Regions from separate parts of the Homo sapiens genome. Here regions 1, 2, 3, 4, 5 and 6 are each linked to region 7. The links are contacts of gene promoters, found by promoter capture Hi-C in blood cells and fetal thymus (Javierre and others, 2016). All regions are on one chromosome and are shown on one strand. The core of a region is centred on a gene start or on the middle of the fragment in contact, and the rest is flanking DNA. Distances in the headings are between cores, read along the strand shown. Region 1 has its middle 130 kb from the start of TOP1. Region 2 has its middle 150 kb from the start of SNORD154. Region 3 has its middle 55 kb from the start of TOP1. Region 4 has its middle 97 kb from the start of TOP1. Region 5 has its middle 78 kb from the start of TOP1. Region 6 overlaps TOP1 (DNA topoisomerase I). Region 7 holds the start of EMILIN3 (elastin microfibril interfacer 3).

What was found. The method cuts DNA at HindIII sites, captures the fragments that hold promoters and counts their contacts. A CHiCAGO score of 5 or more calls a contact.
Region 1: a fragment that was not itself captured here is called in contact with the fragment with the promoter of EMILIN3 in region 7 in 1 of 17 cell types (non-activated CD4 T cells); the score reaches 5.7 in non-activated CD4 T cells.
Region 2: a fragment that was not itself captured here is called in contact with the fragment with the promoter of EMILIN3 in region 7 in 1 of 17 cell types (activated CD4 T cells); the score reaches 5.7 in activated CD4 T cells.
Region 3: a fragment that was not itself captured here is called in contact with the fragment with the promoter of EMILIN3 in region 7 in 4 of 17 cell types (activated CD4 T cells, non-activated CD4 T cells, total CD4 T cells and 1 more); the score reaches 7.0 in activated CD4 T cells.
Region 4: a contact is called between a fragment that was not itself captured here and the fragment with the promoter of EMILIN3 in region 7, in 7 of 17 cell types (naive CD4 T cells, activated CD4 T cells, non-activated CD4 T cells and 4 more). The highest score is 9.4, in naive CD4 T cells.
Region 5: a fragment that was not itself captured here is called in contact with the fragment with the promoter of EMILIN3 in region 7 in 2 of 17 cell types (non-activated CD4 T cells and activated CD4 T cells); the score reaches 7.8 in non-activated CD4 T cells.
Region 6: a contact is called between a fragment that was not itself captured here and the fragment with the promoter of EMILIN3 in region 7, in 3 of 17 cell types (naive CD4 T cells, non-activated CD4 T cells and endothelial precursors). The highest score is 6.4, in naive CD4 T cells.

Annotation. Positions count from the first base shown.
Region 1 is chr20:40,898,070-40,901,102 of GRCh38, forward strand. No RefSeq gene overlaps it. Among named protein-coding and RNA genes, the nearest start is that of TOP1, 130 kb to the right of the region's middle. The HindIII fragment of the contact is 2,073 bases long and covers 634-2,706 here.
Region 2 is chr20:40,868,079-40,870,835 of GRCh38, forward strand. No RefSeq gene overlaps it. Among named protein-coding and RNA genes, the nearest start is that of SNORD154, 150 kb to the left of the region's middle. The HindIII fragment of the contact is 1,493 bases long and covers 522-2,014 here.
Region 3 is chr20:40,972,305-40,975,262 of GRCh38, forward strand. No RefSeq gene overlaps it. Among named protein-coding and RNA genes, the nearest start is that of TOP1, 55 kb to the right of the region's middle. The HindIII fragment of the contact is 3,198 bases long and covers 1-2,921 here.
Region 4 is chr20:40,930,292-40,933,240 of GRCh38, forward strand. No RefSeq gene overlaps it. Among named protein-coding and RNA genes, the nearest start is that of TOP1, 97 kb to the right of the region's middle. The HindIII fragment of the contact is 3,416 bases long and covers 1-2,949 here.
Region 5 is chr20:40,948,978-40,952,020 of GRCh38, forward strand. No RefSeq gene overlaps it. Among named protein-coding and RNA genes, the nearest start is that of TOP1, 78 kb to the right of the region's middle. The HindIII fragment of the contact is 9,551 bases long and covers 1-3,043 here.
Region 6 is chr20:41,108,696-41,111,672 of GRCh38, forward strand. The region is part of intron 13 of TOP1 (DNA topoisomerase I); the gene reads left to right. The region is part of intron 4 of PLCG1-AS1 (PLCG1 antisense RNA 1); the gene reads right to left. Among named protein-coding and RNA genes, the nearest start is that of PLCG1, 27 kb to the right of the region's middle. RefSeq lists a silencer at 2,702-2,781. The HindIII fragment of the contact is 1,460 bases long and covers 678-2,137 here.
Region 7 is chr20:41,365,074-41,368,077 of GRCh38, forward strand. EMILIN3 (elastin microfibril interfacer 3) reads right to left here and starts at 1,745. Exons shown (of 4, transcript NM_052846.2): 1 at 1,395-1,745; 2 at 1-84. The coding sequence starts at 1,561. RefSeq lists an enhancer at 482-983. The HindIII fragment of the contact is 20,041 bases long and covers 1-3,004 here.

The DNA.
Region 1 (3,033 bases), core at 420-2,919, 470 kb before region 7:
TGTATATTATACCCATTAAGTAATTTCTCATCATCCACCCCCTCCCACCTCCCAACTCCTTTGAATCACCATTGTCTATCATTCCACTCTCTACATCCACGTGTACACATTTAGCTCCCACTTATAAGTGAAAACATGAGGTATTTGACTTTCTGTGTCTGAGTTGTTTCACTTAAGGTAATGACCTCCAGTTCCATCCATGTTGCTGCAAAAGACATTTATTCTTTTGAATGACTGAATGGTGGAACTGAATATTATATTTTATTTAAATTAATTAAAGTTAAAGTAAAATACTTAATTCAGCTATTTTAAAACTTTGAAGTATGTTTGGAACAACCTAGGTACATAATTCTACTTTCTCCAACAGTAAATGTTATGAAATCTAAATACGAATAAAGTATTTTCAATGGAAATTTATCATCCAAATTGAAATATGCTGTAAGTGTAAAATGCACAATGGATTTCGAAGACTTAGGACACAAAAAGCAAAAGAACAAGTATTTCAATCATAGTGTATATTGGCCATGTTAAGATGGTAATAGTTTGAATATATCATGTTAAATAAAATAGATTATTAAAACTAAATTAACTTGTTTATTTTTACTTCTTTAAAATTTTGTCACAAGAAATGTAAGCTTTTATGTGTGGCTCTCGTTGTGTTTCTATAGGACAGCACTGAGTTAGGAGGAAAGATGGTGATTTAGACTACAGTAATGATAGATCCGAGATATGTTTTGTAGGTCACATTGGCAGATCTTGCTGATAAATTGGATATTGGGAACGAGTGAAGGAAGAGGAAGTACCAGAGATGATGGCTAAGTTTCTGGCTCCAGCACTTAATTGGAAGATGGTGTCATTTTCTTGAATGAGGAAGACTTGGGGAGGAAAAGCTGGGGTAGGGGTGGGGACTAAGGGTTCCTATGGGACATAGTGAGTTTCAGATGCCTGTAAGATGCCAAGCGGAGAGCCGGGCATGGTGGCTCATGCCTGTAATCCCAGCACTTTGGGAGGCTGAGGTGGGTGGATCACCTGAGGTCAGGAGTTCAAAACCAGCCTGGCCAACATGGTGAAACCTCGTCTGTACTAAAAATACAAAAATTAGCTGGGCATGGTGGCATGCACCTGTAGTCCCAGGTACTTGGGAAGCTGAGACAGGAGAATCACTTGAATCCTGGAGGTGGAAGTTACAGTGAGCCGAGATCTTGCCACTACACTTCAGCCTGGGCAACAGAGAGAGACTCCATCTCAAAAAAAAGATGCCAAGTAGAGATATAAAACAGACAGTTGGATGCAGGGGCCTAGTATTCAAAAGCAAAGTCTGGGGAGAAGATCTAAATTTGGAAGCAACCACTTGGAAAAACTAGGTTTCTCCTCTGTTTATGCATTTCACAACAGACAGACAGACAGACAGATGGACAACAATGTTAATGCACTCCCCTGCTCTCCAGTTACAGTAAAATCCTTCTGAATATTCAAATGTTCCCTGGAGCTTTGAGTCTTCTCTGTATTTCACGAGCCACCAGCTCTCTCTTCTTCACTCCTCCCTCCCACCCCCCTGACTCAGATAATCCCTTCCTTGGCTCGCCCACCCCCAAAACTTGCTGGGCAAAACACTGTGGCAAAGACACCCATTGCAGACAGTCAGTAGCAGCAAGCTATGGGTCAGGATGTTTGCACAAATGCTTCACAGCATCATTTATCTTGAGGGATGTCAACTCGAAAAATGTTAGTTCATGTCACTGTCAGGGTAAATGCCAAAAATTAGCTTTCTTTCATCAGAAAACGGAATAATTAACTTTGCAACTGTTTCCAAAACTGCTAATTAATGGGTTTTACCCACTTGATTTGTCAGGCTACATTGCGAGCTGAACAGCAGCCTGAGCCCCTGGAGGATTCCCATCCTCCCCTTCTCTCTGTCCCTGCAGAAGTTGGAAGAAGTTACAGGTAAACAAGTAGAGAAAAGCAAGACCAGAGGAAAACGCTGCTATTTTGGAGTCGAGAGTTTTCCTTTGCCTTTCAAAATCGGTCTCCTACCACTTTTCTTTCCCACATCACTCCAATGGGAGGTCAAAATTCCCCAGTTGATCTCAAAATTGTGTTGCTCAGCCTTAGCGGATGGGGCAACCATCTACCTGTCCCCAAATCTGGAGGTCAAATCAGATTCCTGCCTGTCTCCCTCCACAAGGTGGTGGGCACAGGGGTTAAAGACAGGCCTTGGAGGCAGAGGGGGCTTTGAATGCCAGCTCTGATTCTCACCAGTTGTGCAAACTTAAGCAAGACACTTCCCTTCTCACTATCTCAGTTTCCTCATCTGTAAAACGGGATTCATGGTAGAGTGATGTCATTGAGTGGGTGAACGCTCCCAAATCTTACTCCACTATACCAAGGCTATATATCCACACCTTTTGCCTTTTAACTTTGCAGGGCATCCCATTGTGGGAAGTGTGGGGTACTTCCCTTTGATTTTTTTTTAATTGTGGTAAAACACACATAACTAAATTTACCATCTTCTTCTTCACCAGGCTGCTATAATATTGGCTACTAACAGTGTTCACCTTTTCTGTGGAATTGCCATTGGCTAAACAGGATCTGTCAGCTTGGGGCCAGTGATGGATTAGCAAGGGAGGAGTGTATCAAAGGACTTTAAGGTGGCACCAATGTTGGGGTGCCATCTTTCCTCCAGAGCTCTCCATGGAACCAGGCTGAAGCTTATGTCAGGCTAACACCTCATCTTTACTCAACTTTCTTCTGCTTGATCATGCTTTCTTAACTTCCCTTCTCTTGAGAGCAGAGCCCAGTAAAATATTTTCACAATAATCCTCATGAGCAGTAATAAATAGTTACTGTCTTCTTTGTTTTTGTTTTTGTTTTGTTTGGGGTTTTCTGAGACAGGGTTTCCTAGGCTGGAATGCAGTGGCATGATCACAGCTCACTGCAGCCTTGACCTTCTGGACTCAATCGATCCTCCCACCTCAGCCTCCCTAGTAACTGGGACTACAGGCATGTGCCACCATGCCCTGGTAATTTTTATAT
Region 2 (2,757 bases), core at 18-2,517, 500 kb before region 7:
ATATGTGATAAGTGGCTTCCAAGAGGAAGGGGCAGAACAAGGGCCAGCCCTTGAGCCAGGTGAGATATGAGAAGCACCAGGATGTACCATGCAGAGCATAAGAGACACTGCGGCTTCCTCGTTGCCCTCTCTTAGGCCACTCATTTTGGGGGAAGCCAGCTAGCTGCCCTGCTCTGAGGACACTCAAGCAGTCCTATGAAGGAGCCTGCATGGAGAGAAACTGAGGCCTCTTGCCAATAGCAGTACCATCTTGACACCCACATGAGTGCACCGTCTTGAAACTGGTCCCTCCAGCCCATCTGGCCTTCAGATAGAGTGACCATACATCCCAGCTTGCCTAGAACAGTCCTGGTTTATCCTGTTGACTGTGCATTCCATGCAATTTACCATTTGTCCTGGATAAAACTATCCTAGTTTAACCAATGGTAAATGATATAGTTATCCTGTTGAGGAACCCAAATTGCAGGCTAAGGCATTTGGACTTCACCCTGGAGGCTGTGGGGAGCCATGGAAGGGTTTTAAGCTTAGGAGTGATCTCATTCCAATTGTGTTTTAGAAAGATCCATTTGCAGAAAATGCACCAGTGTGCGGGAGGAACTGGTATGGAGGGTGGACTGGTTTGGAGAATGGGTGTGGAGGCTTGACCAGGGGAAAACAAGATGAGAAGCCAGGGAGGAGATAAACACAGTCCCTCAGCCAGAGTGGTCAGTGATCATGACCGCCTATATGAAGGCTGGAGCAGTGGAAGATGGGGTCACAGTAAGTTTAGGAAAACTTAGGAGATATTAAACAAACTTGGCTGCGGTAAGAGACAGAGAAGCAGCAGCCAGGGGTGATTCTGAGGCTATCAAGGGGGTATGGCCCCCACATTTCAGAGCCCAGAGCTCTGTCTAAAAATAGCTCTCAAATGAGTCACCTCAATTGCAGCCAACAAGGAATTGGCTGGTTTGTTATTGAATTGCAGGATGTTTGGCCAAACGGACTGAAACCATGTGTAGCCTTGGCTCGAGAAGTTCCCACTGGACCCAGTCTCTTGCTAGGGGCAGTGCCATAGCCCTGATGCATGCATAATCTCACTTTCTTCTCACAACAAATCAGCGAGAATGCCATAATTTCTTCTCATTTATCAGGCCTGATAGAAGCTGCCAAATGCTTCTAGAATGTAGGCTCTGTAGGCGGCGCAGCCAGAATTCAAACCCAGACCTCCTCAGATATTTGGTATCAGCTGGAAAGAGGTTTTTTTGGGTAAAATCCCTAGAAACATTCTCTTGCCTCCTTCCAGCTGGGATACATTGGCTGAACTCGAGTCACCCTCCTAATAAAAATTCCATGTTCCATCAGCAGAATGCTTCCATCCCAATTAGATCAATTTTCTCTAAGTAGCAATAAATGTGCTTTTCTTTCAGAGGCCAGCCCGACACATTAAGTAGGCTTGGGGCAGCCATTCCCCAAGCCTCTGGCTACGAGTGTGTGGGGTCAGGGGTCACAGCACCACCACCTCCAGCTCATTAGTGGGGCCCATTCATCTTTGCTGGGACACCAGCACTCAACATGGTGGCAGGGCTCAGGGTGGGGGTGTGTGGGCAATTCATCAGGGACTCTGGTTCGCCAGAGACAGGAGCAGAAAAGCAGGCCTGCTCACAGGCCGGCAGGAGCCCTAGGCCCAAGAGCTGAGAACCGGAGCTGCCTGGTTAAAGGTTAACCTGGTCTAGGATGTCTGTCTGTAAGGACTCACAGCCAGCTTGTAGGGAAGGAAGGGCCCAGGGCAGGCTCCTTTCAGATGCATCCGGCTCCTGCCTGCTAACAGTTTCCCTTCCGGCCAACTCCCCAAGCCGATCCTTGAAATCCATCTAAGCAAGGCCTACAGGGGCCTGGAGAATGATACTGTCACTCTCCTGTGGTGCGGGGACCTGCCTGGAATAGGCCCTTTGATTTGCAAATCCAGACACTGGAAATGGGAGCCTAAGAGAGCCCCACTCTATCCTGCCCTGCCTGGGCCACTGGGCCTGGTAGAAGCTTGACCAAAAGAATGAGACCTCTCAACTTCCCCAGGACTAAAGCTCAGCCTGCATCAACCTGTGAACCCACACACACAGCCCAAGTCACCCTGAGCCAAGCAGAACTGCAGCTCTGGACATGGGATTCTCAGAGTGGCATGGTAGTAGTTTGCTACGGATGCTGTATTGATGTACCACAAACTAAGTGGCTTAACAGATATTTATTCTCTCCCAGCTCTGGATGCTAGAAGTCCCAGATCAAGGTGCCAGCAGAACCATGTTCCCTCTGAAGGAGCTAGGGAAGGTTCTGCTCCAGGCCTCTCTCCCAGCTTCTGATAGTTCCCTGGCCTGTGACAGCATAACTCCAATCTTCACCTGGCGTTCTGCATGTGTGTGTATGCACCTGTGTTCAGATTTCTCCATGTGTGGTGTGTGTGTGTATGTGCATGTGTGCAACAAGGTCTTGCTCTGTCACCCAGGCTAGAGTGCAGTGGCACAATCTCAGTTCATTGCAATCTCTGCCTCCCAGGCTCAAACAATCCTCCTGCCTCAGCCTCCTAGGTAGCTGGGACTACAGGTGCATGCCACCATGCCTAGCTAATTTTGGGGGTTTTTTTGTTTTTTGGTTTGTTTTGTTTTTATTTTTTGTAGAAACTGAATTTTGTCATGTTTCCCAGGCTGGTCTCCAACTCTTGGGCTCAAGTGATCTGCCCACCTCCGCCTCCCAAAGTACTGGAATTATAGGTGTGAGCCACTGCAC
Region 3 (2,958 bases), core at 73-2,572, 390 kb before region 7:
TGCCCAGGCGGTTGTGCAGTGGCGCAATCTCAGCTCGCTGCAACCTCTGCCTCCTGGGCTTAAGGGATCCTCCTGCCAAAGCTCCCAAGCTGGGACCACAGGTGCACACCACCATGCCCAGCTTATTTTTTAAGGTTTTTTTGTGTAGAGACAAGGTCTCACTATATTGCAGGCTGGTCTCGAACTCCTGGGCTCACGTAATGCTCCTGCCTTGGCCTCTCAAAGTGCTGGGATTACAGGCGTGAGCCACTGCACCGGGCCATAAGTGTATATATTAATATTTGTGGCTTACAGAGATATTTTGATAGAGGCACACAATGTGTAATCGTCAGATCAGGGTAAATGGAGTATCCATCACCTCAAGCGTTTATCCTTTGTGTTACAAACAATCCAATTACTCTTTTAGTTATTTTTAAATGTACAACTATTTTTTATGATAGTCACCCTGTTGTGCTAGCAAATAGTAGGTCTTATTCATTCTTCCTAATTTTTTGTACCCATTAACCATCCTTCTACTCTGTGTCTCCATGAATTCAATCATCTTAATGTTTAGCTCCTACAAATAAGCAAAAACATGCAGTCTTTTTTTTTTTTTTTTTTTTTTTTTTTTTTGCAGCAGAGTCTCTCACTGTGTTGCCAGGCTGGAGTACAATGGCATAATCTTGGCTCACTGCAACCTCCGCCTCCCAGGCTTCAGCGGTTCTCCTGCCTCAGCCTCCAGAGTAGCTGGGATTACAGGCACGCGCTCCTGAACCCAACTAGTTTTTTTTTATTTTTAGTAGAGATGGGGTTTCACCATGTTGCCCAGGCTGGTCTTGAACTCTTAACCTCAAATGATCCAAATGATCCACTTTGGAAGCCTCGGCCTTCCAAAGTGCTGGGATTACAGGCATGAGCCACCGCACCTAGCCCGAAGTTTGTCTTTCTGTGCCTAGCTTATTTCACTTAACATAATGACTTCCAGTTCCAACCATGTTGTTGCAAATGACAGGATACCATTCTTTTTATGACTGAATAGTATTCCATTGTGTATATGCACCACATTTTCTTTATCCACTCATCTGTTGATGGATTGCTTCCAAATCTTGACTATTGTGAATAGTGCTGCAGTAAACATGAGAGTGCAAATATCTCTTTGATATACTGATTTCCTTTGTTTTGGGTATATACCCAGCAGTGGGATTGCTGGATTGTACGGTAGCTCTATTTTTAGTTTTTTGAGGAACCTCCAACTTGTTCTCCATAGTGGTTGTACTAATTAACATTCCCACCAGCAGTGTACAAGAGTTCCCTTTTCTCCACATCCTCACCAGCATTTGTTATTCCCTGTCTTTGGGATAAAAGCCATTTTAACTGGGGTGACATGATAACTCATTGTAGTTTTGATTGGCATTTCTCTAATGATCAATGACTTTGAGCACCTTTTCATATACCTGTGTGCTATTTATATGTCTTCATTTGGGAAATGTCTATTCAGATATTTTGCCCATTTTTAATAGAATTATTAGGTTTTTTCCTATAGAGTTATTTGAGCTCCTTATATATTCTGTTATTAGTCCCTTGTCAGATGGGTAGTTTGCCAATATTTTCTCCCATTCTATGGGAGGTTTTTTGAGGGTTTTTTTTATCATGAAGGCTGTTGAATTTTATCAAATGGTTTTTCAGCATCAATTGAAATGATCTTATGATTTTTGTCCTTCATTCTGTGATTCTATGATTCTATGGGTTGTCTATGATTCTATGGGATTCTATGATTCTGTGATTCTGTGGGTTTCTCTTCACTTGTTGATTGTTTCCTTTGCTGTGTAGAAGTTTTTTTTAACTTGGTGTGATCCCATTTGTCCATTTTTGCTTTAGTTGCCTGTGCTTGTGGGTTATTATTACTCAAGAAATCCTTTACCTCTCCAATGTCCTGGAGGGTTTCCTCAGTGTTTTCTTTTTGTGGTTTCATAGTTTGAGGTCTTACATTTAAGTCTTTAATCAATTTGGATTTGATTTTTCTATGTGGTGAAAGATAGGAGTCTAGTATCATTCTCCTGCATGTGGATATCCACTTTTCCCAGCACCATTTATTGAAGAGAATGTCCTTTCCCCAATGTATGTTATTGGTACCTTTGCCAAAAATGAGTTCACCCTAGATATATGGATTCATTCGGGAGTTCTCTATTCTGCTCTACTAGTGCATGTGTCTGTTTTTATGCCAGTACTATGCTGTTTTGGTTCCTATAGCTATGTAATATAATTTGAAGGCAGGTAATGTGATTCTTCCAGTTTTGTTCTTTTCGCTCAGGATCGCTTTGGCTATTCTGGGTCTTTTGTGGTTCCATATAAATTTTAGGATTGTTTATTCTATTTCTGTGAAGAATGTCATTGGTGTTTTGATAGGGATTGCATTGAATCTGTAGATTCCTTTGGGTAGTAAGGACATTTTAACAATATTGATTCTTCTAATCCATGAATATGAAATATCTTTCCATTTCCTTGTGTCCTCTTCAGTTTCTTTCACCACTGTTTTATCATTTTAATTGTAGAGATCTTTCACCTCTTTGGTTAAGTTAATTCCCAGGTATTTTATTTTATTCGTGGCAATTGTAAATGGGATTAATTTCTTGAATTCTTTTTCAGGTTGTTCGCTGTTGGCAAATAGAAATGGTACTGACTTTGGTATGTTGTTTTTGTATCCTGCAGCCTTATTGAATTTGTTTATCAGTTCTAATAATTTTTTGGTGGAGTCATTGGATTTTTTCAAATATAAAGATTATATAATCTGAAAACAAAGATAATCTGAATTCTTTCTTTCCAATTTCGATGCCCTTTATTTCTTTCTCCTGTCTGATTGTTCTAGATAGGATTTCCAGTACTATGTTGAATAACAGTGATGAAAGTGGCCATCCTTGTAGTGCTTCAGATCCTAGAGGAAAAGCTTTCAGTTTTTCCCCATTCAGTATGGTACTAGCT
Region 4 (2,949 bases), core at 361-2,860, 430 kb before region 7:
AGGCATACAGCTCCTCAGTGCAGACTCTCATGGCTTCAGAGTACTCTGCTTCTAGACAGGAGGTGGAAGAAGAAAGGGTGGAGAAGGTAGATTCACTTCTTAATCTCCTCAGCCTAAAATCAGCCCAAAGTCTTTCTGCTCATAGTTCACCAATGAAAACTAGTCATGTGATCCCTATGATATGAAAGGGAGTCTGAGAGGTATAGGTCCTGTCTGGGTAGCTGCCAGCATGAACCCTATTCTATTAAAGGGGAAGCATGATCTTTTGGAGGTCAGCTAGCCACCTCTTCCTCACTATGTCATTCCTGATGTTGATGATAGAAGTAATAATAACCAATGCTATTGGCAATAATAATAACTGCTCTTCTGCATTAAGCACATCCTCTGACACAATCTTTGTGCTGAGAGTTTTCCAGGCATCATGCTACTCACTCTTCCATCCTTCCTGTGAGGTTAGAAGACTTCTGCTTCAGATTCTCTAAGAATGAGGTCAGATCCTGTTCCACTCTGCACTCAGTAGACATACTCATGCCATGGTCAACTCTCATATCTATGCCGTAGAGGCAGTCATGCTACCTGCCCCTCAGACCCTGAGAAAGGAACAGAGGCCATCAGAAGGGAGTTTCTGCTCATTTGAATTATATGTCACAGAGGCTAAGACCCCACCAGGTTGACAAGCTAGGCCTGGGTTCTGAGTCTTTTGAAAATTCCCTGTTGGGGAAGCGTATCCTCAGCCTGCTTGAACTCACCTACTGTGTGCACCCCTGCAACTGGGCTAACCATCAAGAGCCCCCCCCCAGACAGGGGAGATCCAGCCAGAAAAGTTGTTACCATCTTCACTCTCTGTGGCCTCCTCTTCCTATATCAGGAAGTCGCCAAATGGTGACCATAAAAATACATCTCCCCTTTTTCTACGGCTTATCATCAGGGGAATGAATGAGGACCCACGTCATCCAAAGACCTGAAGGCAGGTGGGAGTTTGCCTTTATACTCAAAAGCAAGAGCTGATTCCCTGTGTCTGCACTTATTGGGCCAATGATGCACACAAATATTACTGCATTTTACAGATGGAGAAACTAAGGAGTGACTATGTTAAAGTCAAGAGTATGCAGTAGCGGAGCTGGGAAAGATGGCTGAAAGGTGGGTTTGGCTCAAGATAGGGGCTCTCAAAGCACTTTGCCTGAGTACCTTGAGCTTCCTACTCAGATGTGTTGAGTCCACACCAATACACAAGTCTTGGGCTTGAAACCCTTCCCAGGCAGATCAGAGGAAGTGGGGGAGTGGTCTGCAACCTAGAAGCAGCTGCACAGGCAGCAGATGGTAACGGCTGCCTCTCAGATGGTTTTTTGTCACATAGCTTTTTTTCTTTCACATTATGAATTTTTTTCTGAAATCCTCTAAAAACATTGTTTTTATAGTAACAGAGGTGGCTGTATGTTTCTGAGAGATCCAGATCCCACACTCAGTCTGTCAGCCTGCTGGGATCTTTGCCTTTGTGACATATGAATAAAGTAAGTTCAAGCTCGCTGCTGCAAACAGTCCCTGGAGGTGGGCTGCCTCCTCTTCCCAGTAGCTAGAGGAGCCCTAGGATTCTGGAGAACCGAGCCCCAAGACCATCTTGTCCCGAGTCCCAAAGATAATGGGCAGTAATCCCAGGAGAGCAAGGATACAGAGGGACAAGGCCCCTAGAGTGGGTGGGAGTTCTGGGCTCCAAATATGTGTGAGTCTTCATAGGAAGGAACCAAGAGCAGCATAACCTCAAACAAGTATTTAACCTCTCTAAGCCTCAGTTTCCTCATCTGAGCATACTGATGCTGTCTACCTCCTGAGATTGCAGGGAGAACTGAATTATGCTTATGAAAGGGCCTAGCACAGCACCTAGCTCCCACTGTTTTCTCAATAAAGACTGGCTTTGATAATTATTTTGTTTGATAATTATTTGGTAATTATCCTAAGCCACAGGATAGGAAAAATAAGCAATAATGCAAAGACCAGAGATGATGAGAGCCTCAAGCCCAGATGAAGGGGTCATGGGTAGACAGACTGAGTCAGAGAGGTCCTTGACCTTACCCAGCAGGAAGGAGGGGCTATTCCCAGGTGAGCCAAGGCTGTGAAGAAGGACTTTGGCCTCTAAACCTCATGCCCAGTTTGGCCCCCACCTCAATTCTTGTTCCCACTGCAGAGAAATCTTCTTGCACAGCCTGGCAGGTTGTACCTTTTAATAGAGGAAATACTGGAAACATAGGTGTGACATTTCCTATCCTATAAATATGCCCTCTACTCAGAGCCAGATGATACTGAGAAGGACATCCTTCATGCTGCTACACAGCATGTCTGTAGCCTGTACAGAGGGAGTGGGGGTGAGGGGGCCCAGTGAGGCATGATAGTTGACCTCATAAGCAGATACTTTTCATGGGGATCAAGCTGTCAGTTTTGCAGGGGGACCTGGGAACTCTCAGACTGGGGGCATTGATTCCAGGAGCCTGGATGCAATCCACTGACCTACAGACGGACCACAGGATGTGCTGCTCCCTGGTGAGTGGGCTTGAGGGTATGCTGGCCCCTTACATGACCCTTGGGTCAGGATACGACCCTCAGCTTGTGCTGGACTTTGAACTACCAAATCCTATGGGTCTTCCAGATGATAAAGCCTCATTTAAACAGAATCTTTCCAACATCCCAATGATTGGAAGATGATGATTCTCATTTTACAGAGATAGAAAAGAGGGAGGGTGAAAGACGGAAACATTCTTTTTTTTTTTTTTTTTTTTTTTTTTGAGATAGAGTCTCACTTTATTACCCAGGCTGGAGTGCAATGGCATGCTTAAGAATCACTTCAGCCTCAATGTCCTGGGTTCAAATGACCCTCCCACCTCAGCCTCCTGAGTAGCTAGGACTACAGGCATGCACCACCAGGTCTGGCTAATATTGTGTTTTTTGTAGAGATGG
Region 5 (3,043 bases), core at 446-2,945, 420 kb before region 7:
ATCTGGCCAGAAGGTTTATATACCAAAGTGAATTCAGAATGGGGGAAGATCACACTAGCTTTAGCACCAAATCTTACAGTTTTGTTTACAGTTACTTGAACTAGGCTAGGAGTTGCCTTCAATCAGTGATTATGGAGCATGCTTTAATGAACTAGAAGAACAATTCGTAATCCATGAGTTGTTTATTATGCTGAAAGACACTCCTAAAGACCTTGAGAATGTTCCCTAAAAGTTTGTCCCCCAAGTAGATTTAAACATGCACCTAAACCTTATTTACACCCTTATGATTTTCAGAAAACACCTTCTTTACACATATGCAAAGATCCCAGTGCCCCTTTTCTGAATTGCAAATACAACCCAATTTCCAAAGATCATCAGCAAGCACCATCTGCTTCATTATGGCTAAACCCCTTAAAAGGGAACCCGGGGTCTCTAAGGGTGATGGAGGACTTGGGATGAACCACTCATAAGAAAAGCATCATCTTACCTTCTGATGAAATGGTGCTTATAGTGACCACAGGGGATTGGCCAAGGCTGAGGGATTTTCCCAACATTCTGAGGTTTTTTTTGTTATTTCTTTGCCTGAGGACTTTCTCTGTCCACAAAAGCCACTTTGTCCACCTCTGTGGCATGCCAGAAGTGCCACACACACACCCAAAGCAGCTCTCAACCAATGCATGGTGAAAGTCGGTGGACAAATGCCCCAGCTCCCTCACCTCATGGGTGGAATAACTCTATGGTGTAGTCCATACAGACTGCCACAGTTCCCCAGCACGATTAAGCCTCAACCACCCCGGGAGCGCTAACAGGATGATGGCCTCTTTATTGTCTGCCTTCTCCTCCCTGTCTCACTTCCTCACTCTCTTAGCTGTATTGCCTTTTATCTCCAAGATAAACTGCTTGCATTTGAGTCAATATCTGCTAGGACAGGGGTAAGAACAATACCTTTGGGACCATTGGGTTAGCAGTTGTGGTGGAGATCCACTCCAGTATGGCCCCTGTGCCTGCTGCATGAAAAGAGGATGGGCTTTTGGAGCAGAGATGCCTAAGCTCCAAATCTGGTCCAGCTATTTACCAGCTGTGTGACTTAGGGAAAGTCAGAGAGCCTCGCTGAGCCTCTCTGTCCTCTAGTAAGATATGGGAATAGTAATGGGAGCCACTGCAATCAGTTGTTGAAAAGATGCATTGAAATTCTGCAGACTAAGCCCATGGCACAAGCAGGTGTTTATTCAAAAAGTATTAGTAGATTTATTCCATAATGGGCTCTGAGTGTGGCACAGTGAGGTGTGCAAAGGATGAGGCCAGATCCCCCTTCCTGGAGCTCCCAGGGAGATCAGATGTAAGGAGATTAGTCATGATGTTGCCATTTATGCTGGGAAACTCACGGGCTGGGGGCAGCTGGGGAGCTGCACCAAGGTCTCCAAGAGTCTAGCTGTGTGGTCCAATAGGAAGCCACCAACCACATGTGGCTATTTAAATTTACATTAATTAAAATTAAATACAATGTAAAATTCAGTTCCTCAGTCTCACTAGCCACATTTCAAGTTCTCAGTAGCCACATGTGGCTCGTGGCTACCATGTTGGGCAGTGCGGATCTAGAACATTTCCACCATCGTAGAAAGTTCTGCACTGGCCTAGTATTGACCCGGAATTCAGATCTAGCACTGTCCTTGCTGGCTGTCAGATTTGGGCATAGGTCCTTTCCTCCTTGAGCCTCAGTTTCTTCTCCTGTGAAATGGGCTGTACTAATCATGTCACTCTAAGCAGCGCGGTTATTGCAAGCACCAAATTAAAAGTTTTCGTGAAACCACTAGACAAGCACCTTGTCTGGAAGACTCTAGAAGCATAAATAACGTTGACCAAATCTACTTCAGCATTTGGTCTTGCCTTTCTTCATCTTAGATCCCGGGGTCCCGAACCTCCCTGTTTTTCTACCTGGGCCCTCACCACACTCCACTTCCATCCCCACTCCCCAATCCATCCTCTGTGATCACTGTCCCTCTCATCTCCAACTCTGCCCACGCCTTCAGGCAATCAGCACATAGACTAAGTCCTTACTGGGGTCTGCACAGACAGAACCAAAGGCTTGGACACATGAAGAGTGGAGATCAGGGAAAAGGCTTTCCTGGGCTCTAAGAGATGAGCTTGGAAAAGGGATGTCCCTAAAGGCATGTTACTAAGTGGAAGAAGCCAATCTGAAATGGGTACACACTGTATGGTTCCAACTATGTAACATTCTGGAAAAGACAAAACTATGGAGACAAAACAATAAAAAGACCAGAGGTTGCCAGAGAGGGATGAATAACAGAGCATGGAAGATTTTTAGGGCAGTGAAACTATTGCATATGGTACTATAATGGTGATACAAGTCATCAGACATTTGTCAAAACCCATAGAATAGCCAACACCAAGAGTGAACCCTCGTGTAAACTATGGGCCCTGGGTGATACTGATGTGTCAAGGTAGGTTCGCTGATTGTGACAAATGTCCCACTCCCAGCAGGATGTTGATCGTGAGGGAGCTTCTGGGTAAGGGTGGGGGTAGGGGAATGTGGGAACTCTGTACTTTCCACTTAATTTTGCTATGGACCTGAAAATGCTCTAAAAGAATAAAGTCTTCTTTAAAAAAAAAGATGGAACTGACTTTCAGTACCTTGGTCCAGTGAAGATGCCAACAGCAGTAACCAGTTAGAGGATGGACGAGCCATCATTTGGGGGGCAAGTGAAAAAGACACATTCCAAGGCTCAATAAAAAATACATTTTTTTAAGAATGCAAAAGAAAAGATCCTGCCAGAGTGGAAGGGAGCAGCACTTAGCTTAGATCTGTGGCACCCAGGATGCCCTGGGACCCTCCTGTTCTTAGCCACACCCCAGCCTGACCCTACAAAGTCAAGCCTTGCAGGGTAGAACCTTCATAATCTTCCAGCCATCATAGCCCCTGTGCCTGACACTTTCATTTCTCTTTATTTGCTCATTCTCTTCCTTCCACCACACCATGCTCAAATCATCCAAAACTTTCCCTTTATCACTGAGCCTCCCTAAT
Region 6 (2,977 bases), core at 158-2,657, 260 kb before region 7:
GGTGCCCGTAGGATCTGAAATAGCATTGGAATGACAGCTAGCCTTCTGGAACCTGCAGTTTCAACCAAAGAAACTCTGATTCCAGATAACCCAGGAGTTTCTTATCCTGCATAATCTAGGAGTTTACAAAAAGGCTGCTTATGGGTACTCACTGCTAAGTACAATCCACTGCCAAGTTTGGAAGCATTACCTGCTCTCACAACCCAGGGAAAGTAGCCCTTAGTAAAATTCAGGTTTTTTCAAACCAGCCTTAACCTTACAAACAGAATTTATCATCATGATTTTTCTTTCAAATGCAGTACAGCAAACTTTAGGATCAATGTTGACATCGTATTGCGTTTAGTCCTGTTAAAATACTCTCAGTGCCAAATACACACTTCTGCCTTTTTTCTCTTTAGAGTCTAGAATTCTGTGGGGTTCCAAAAATGTATGTGCTTACAACCTTTTATATGTAACCACCTAGGGATTAAAGGGCTAAATGTGAAGGAAAGTATCTTTACAATATTCATCTTGGGAAGCTCTCATTTTGGTGAGTTCTATTAGAGAAAATAAGACACAAGCTCATTAAAAATATATATATATTCTGAGCCTGGCATCTTGGTATAAAATTCAAAACGTTTTAAATCTATTTATTAGTAAGACTAACATAGACCTAAGTGTGAAGACTAAAATATTAAAGCTTGTAGGTGATATCATGGTTGAATATGACCTTAGAGTAGATTCCTTAGGACAGAAAAACACCAACAAGAGAAACAATTGACTAAATGGACTTCATTAAAATTAAAAATTTATGTTCAACAAAAGACACTGCTAAAATAAATACAGAATTTACAGACTAAAAGAAAATATTTGCAACATGTTTATCTGAAAGGGCTTATATCCAGACTATACAAAGAATTCCTGTAGCTCCATAATAAAAAAACAGACATCCCATCCGCATAATAAAAAGAGCAAAAGACTTGAACATATACTATACAAAAGAAGATACAGGAATGGTCAATAAATAAGCAAATGAAAGAGTGCTCGACATCACTAATTATCAGTGGAGTGAAGATTTAACCACAGGGAGATACGAATTCCAGTTCTAGGTATTTTTACCTCAAGTGAAATAAAAACATTTATCCATGAAAAAACTTGTACAAGAATGTTCATAGCAGTGCTCTATTCATAAGAGTGCAAAACTGGAAACATCCCAGAATAGATAACACATTATGGTATAGTCATAGAATATACTATATTTATCAGCAGTTAAGAAGGGAACTACTTATGTATTCAACAACATGGATGAATCTTAAAAACATGGTTAAGGGCCAGGTGCGGTTGGTGCATGCCTGTAATCCAAGCACTCTGGGAGGCCAAGGCGGGTGGATCACTTCAGGTCAGGAGTTCGAGACCAGCCTGGCCAACATGGCGAAACACCGTCTCTACAAAAAAATACAAAAATTAGCCGAGGGTGGCGCACACCTGTAATCTCAGCTATTCAGGAGGCTGAGACATGGGAATCGCTTGAACCTGAGGGGTAGAGGTTGCACTGAGCCGAGATTGCATCACTGTACTCCAGCCTGGTGACAGAGCGAGACGCTGTCTCAGAGGGAAAAAAAAAAGTTAAAAAGGCAGACAGAGGAGTCTATATTGTATGATTCTATTTATATAATCTAGACTAGGCAAAATTTATCCATGATGATAGTAATCAGATTGAAGGATCAGTGGTTGCTTGGTGGAAATTGACTGAGAAGGGAAATAGTCATGTAAGAATACTGGCAAATGTCCTCTTCCCCATTACAAACGTCTGAGAAAGTTACTAGAAAACAGAATCCAATTTGCCTTCTCACCCCCAACTTTGTAATCTTGAATCCAGATCCTGATTCCACCCAACCACTCTGCTGAATGGATAGCAGCTATATTAGAGAGACAATATAGTGGGCCTACTAGTTTTAAAAAGTCATCCAAAGAATGTCATCTACAATCAGTTAAATTAGATTTTTACCCATTACTGAAGTGTGATTGAATTAGGGAAAGAGGAGAGGTGGTCAAAGGCAGCCTTCTCCAGTGGATTCCTTGTCTTCTTGAGATGGTTTTGTGAGACCTTGCCTGGAAGACCTAGGTGGATAGTTTATTTTCTAAAAGTAGTCAAGAAAGCTTGTTCAGGGCATTGAACACTGCAGGGACAAGCATACTTCTTGGAGGCCAGCCATCTCCTGCTGGATCTAAGCGGGGTGGCTTCTGCCTCCACCTCCATCTCAGCTTATTTGAGAGAATCCTAGATCCTTGGTGCAGAAGCCCAGCCAGCCTGTGAAGAAAAGTTGGTCTGGTAGTATCCTGTGAATGACGTGCGGGTTGGGTTTTTCTAAATCTCGTTTACCTGACTCCTACCTTACATTCCAGTGGTGTGACTAAGGAACTGAGCAAACGTAACCCTAGGGGACTTTGAGACAGGCTTTGGTAGTCCATGTGCACTAGAGTGAGGGGAAAGAGGCCACTCCAGAGTTGGGTACTCTACTGTTGAAGGTGAGCCTTTTGTGTCCAATTTTTCCGTGCATGTGTAAGAACAGTTGTCATGGAGATTTACTACTGACTTGTGCATGAGGACAGCTTATATCTCACCTTTTCTTATTCACCCTGTTAAATGTCAAAATGTACTAAGACTTAGGTATTTTTTCTGTGTCACCAACTACTAAATCACCCACCCATGATAGCAGGTAGTTACTGAAACTCTTGTAGCCAAACAAGTGCATAACACTGGTACACATGATGTGAGAGTGCAGATGACTCCTTAGCTTAACTGTGTAAGCTTTTAATTTCTGAGTACTTTTAGGATTGAGAAGTGGAAGACATTCTTGCTCTAGGTATCTCATGCTTCTGCACACCCAGAAGGCTGGTTGCGCCCCCACCCCACCCCCCGCCCCCTTTTTTTTTTTTTTGATAGGGTCATGCTCTGTTGCCCAGGCTGAAAGGCTGGTTATCTTCACCACAGGTC
Region 7 (3,004 bases), core at 495-2,994:
CGGTATTCAGCCTTTACGTAGCTCTCCGCTCCCTCCTGTAGGATGCAGGTCACATTCCTGTGCACCACATAGGCACAGAGGGCCCTACAGGAGAAAATGGCACCCCTGGAATATCTGGCTGAGCGAGGCCCACAGAGGCGCCTACCCTCCCACCTCCATCTGTGGGCCTCAGCAGGACTCCAAACTCCCATGTCTCTTCTGTCTGTTCTCTGTGTCCCTGGGAGCCAACGCCCTTGGTCTGGGGTCCAGCCCCGCTGCTGGTCTCTGATTCCAGCCTCCGTGATGGGTGGCCCCTGGGCTAAGCACTATTTGGAACCAGGAGCCTGATGTGGCTGCCCCTCCCTGCGTGGGGAAGAGGCCAGCCCGGATTCTCCCTCAAGTGCCCTGCCACACCCCCCCATCCTTCGCTGATTCCAAACTCCTTATCTTGGCATTTAAGGCTTCCGAGTCCCCACTCAGTGACTCCTTTGAGAGCACCATGTCTTGTCCTTCCTCCCTGCCTGGCTCCCGGGGAAATCCACCTCTCCTCGTAGTTTTGCAGCCCCTGCCTTTGGTCCTGTTCCCTTACTCTCAGAGCAGTTCTTGTACCACCTCCTCCAGGAGGCTCGCTGTGATGTACCCAGGCCCACTGAGTGTCGGTACTCTTCCTCCTACAACAGCTCTCAAATTCAGCTAGAATTCAAGTTCAGCCAGCACCCCAGGCAGAGCCTCCAGCCCACTTAACTGAGGCCAGTTCGCAAGCCACTGCCCACGAAACACCAGAAGCTGAGGCGGGGAAAGCAGGCTCCTTGATGAGCCACAAGGGCTGAGGAGGTGGCTGCCTGGCATAAGCCGACCGCTGTGGACGGCTGTGCCACAGCACAGGCCCGGAGCCAGGAGCCCGCTCTGGCTCTGCAGCCCGGCCACGCTGGGGCTCCCATGGGGTTGCTGGGGCCAGGCTGACTGCGAGAGGGCAGCGGCCGCCCGGATGCGCAGCTCTATCTCCTACCTGGCCGGGCCAGGGGAGAGAAGGGAGGCCCGGGGCGGGGGAGCCCCGCGTGCTCAGCGCGCGGACCGCCTTTCCTCCTCTCCCTCCACCTGGTCCGCTCGCCCGGAGTCTGCACACAGCGCAGCTGGAAAATGTTACTTCGCTGGAAAGGTTTCCGCTGGCACTGCCAGGATCCCAAGCCGCCGCGCCAGGCCCCCTCGGTTCCTTTTTCCTCGCCAGCCCCGCAACCTCCCGGAGCGTAGGGCGCTCGCCTGGGCAGGGGCTCGGCCCCGGGCGCCGCCCCCTCTGTGCAGCGGCCTCGGGGTGCCCGGGGCCTCGACGCCCCCCGCGGGTGCGGGCAGGTGGGAGCGGCGACGCGCGCGGGCCCATCCCTCCCTCTTCCCGCCCGCCGCCCGCCCGCGCTTACTTGTGCGGCCCCGGGCGCAGCCGCGGGCGCCATCCCGTCGTGTAGAGACTGTAGCGGGAGGCACCGGGCGGCGCAGGCCGCGCCAGGAGCGGGGTGCCCCTGGCCTGCGCCCCCGAGAGCAGCGCCGCGACGGCGCACAGCCAGACGAGCAGGCGGCGGCGGCCCATAGCGGCCCCCGCGCCTCTGCCCGGCCCCGCGCGGTGCCCCCCGCCGGGTGTCCGCCTGCAGCGCCGCGCCGCCCCCGCCGCTGGTCGGCCCGGGTCCCGCCCCGAGGGTCCCGGGGTCCCCTTCGGCCCCCGAGCTCGCTGGCCCGGCCGCCTGGCGCTTCGCGGCGGCTGCGTCCCGCGGAGTGGCCGGCGCTGCTAGCGGCTGGGGCCGCGGAGGGGAGGCGGGAGGCGGGCTCTTTGCGGATTAGCATAAACTTGGGGCCGCGCCGCTCGCCGCCGCCAGCCCCTCGCCCCAGCTCCGAGCGGACGGCCGAGGAGCCGCCTGCGAACAGGAGGTTCCAAAGGGAGCAGCCCCAGGTGGCAGGGGCGCAGGCCGCCGCGCCCTGGGAGGCCCCCCGAGCACACCAGCCACTCTGTCGCCTGCGGGCACGGGGCGAGACGCAGAGAAGCGGACCCCTGAGGCCAGCCTGGGCGTGGACTTTCCAGGAGTCGTCCACCCTCAGGATACGCTTGTCTTCAGAGTCCGTGTGAACCCGGGAACTGCTCTCCAGGGCTCTGGAGCCGAGATGGCCGTGACTGGGGGCACAGCAGCACCACCTCCCCCGCCACCTCTTTGGAATAGACCCCAGATCATCCCCGTTTGCTCGCTCTGCCTCCTGGCCCCATCATTGCCCGGGAACCTTAGTTTGATAACTCCGCTGACCTCTCCCCAGGCATCCCACCTCCCCCTTACCCCGCAACCTCTGCCACGTAGCCTGGTGGCCCGGTTGCACCTCTGGTTCTCTGGAGGCGCCTGTGTTGCCTCTCTGTCTTAGGTATGGGTTGCACCGAGCCCGAAAGGCCTATCACCGCCCCAGCCCAGCCAAAAGTGCTGTGCTTTTCGTGCAACTGAAGCTCTAAGCCGGCTGGTCAGAGAAAATCCTCAGGTCTTTCTCACAAGGCACTGCCGCGGTGAAGCCAGGCGTCGTCCACATTTTGCTTGTGAAGTTGACTCTTGGAACCCAAGAGTTGGGTTTTATCGTCGTCCTCATTCAGTATCACCTTGCTAACTCTCTAACCTGCACAGAGTCCTTCTGATTCTGTCATCAGAGCGGTACTTTCCTGGCCTTGTCTCATCCACACCGGTGGCTACAGCCGTCTGTGTCTTTGCCCCAGGAGCTGATAGGTGTACAGAACTCTGGGGCTTGCTTGGAGAGACCTCCCTCCAAATTGACCTTGAGATATGAATTAATGCCTTTTGGATAGGGTGATGGTTATCAAGGATACTGGAAGGGGCAGCTCCGAAACCCACATCTATTTCCTGCCCTTAGCTTTAGTGGCTTTTGGGTTCTGTGGGGCGGACATCTGACCCCAGCTAGGCCCATCCTGCTTTCCCCCAGGCTTTGGAATCAGAACACAGAAGCTGAAGGAATCCAGCTTCCAGGTGTAGGTTGTGTGAGTTTC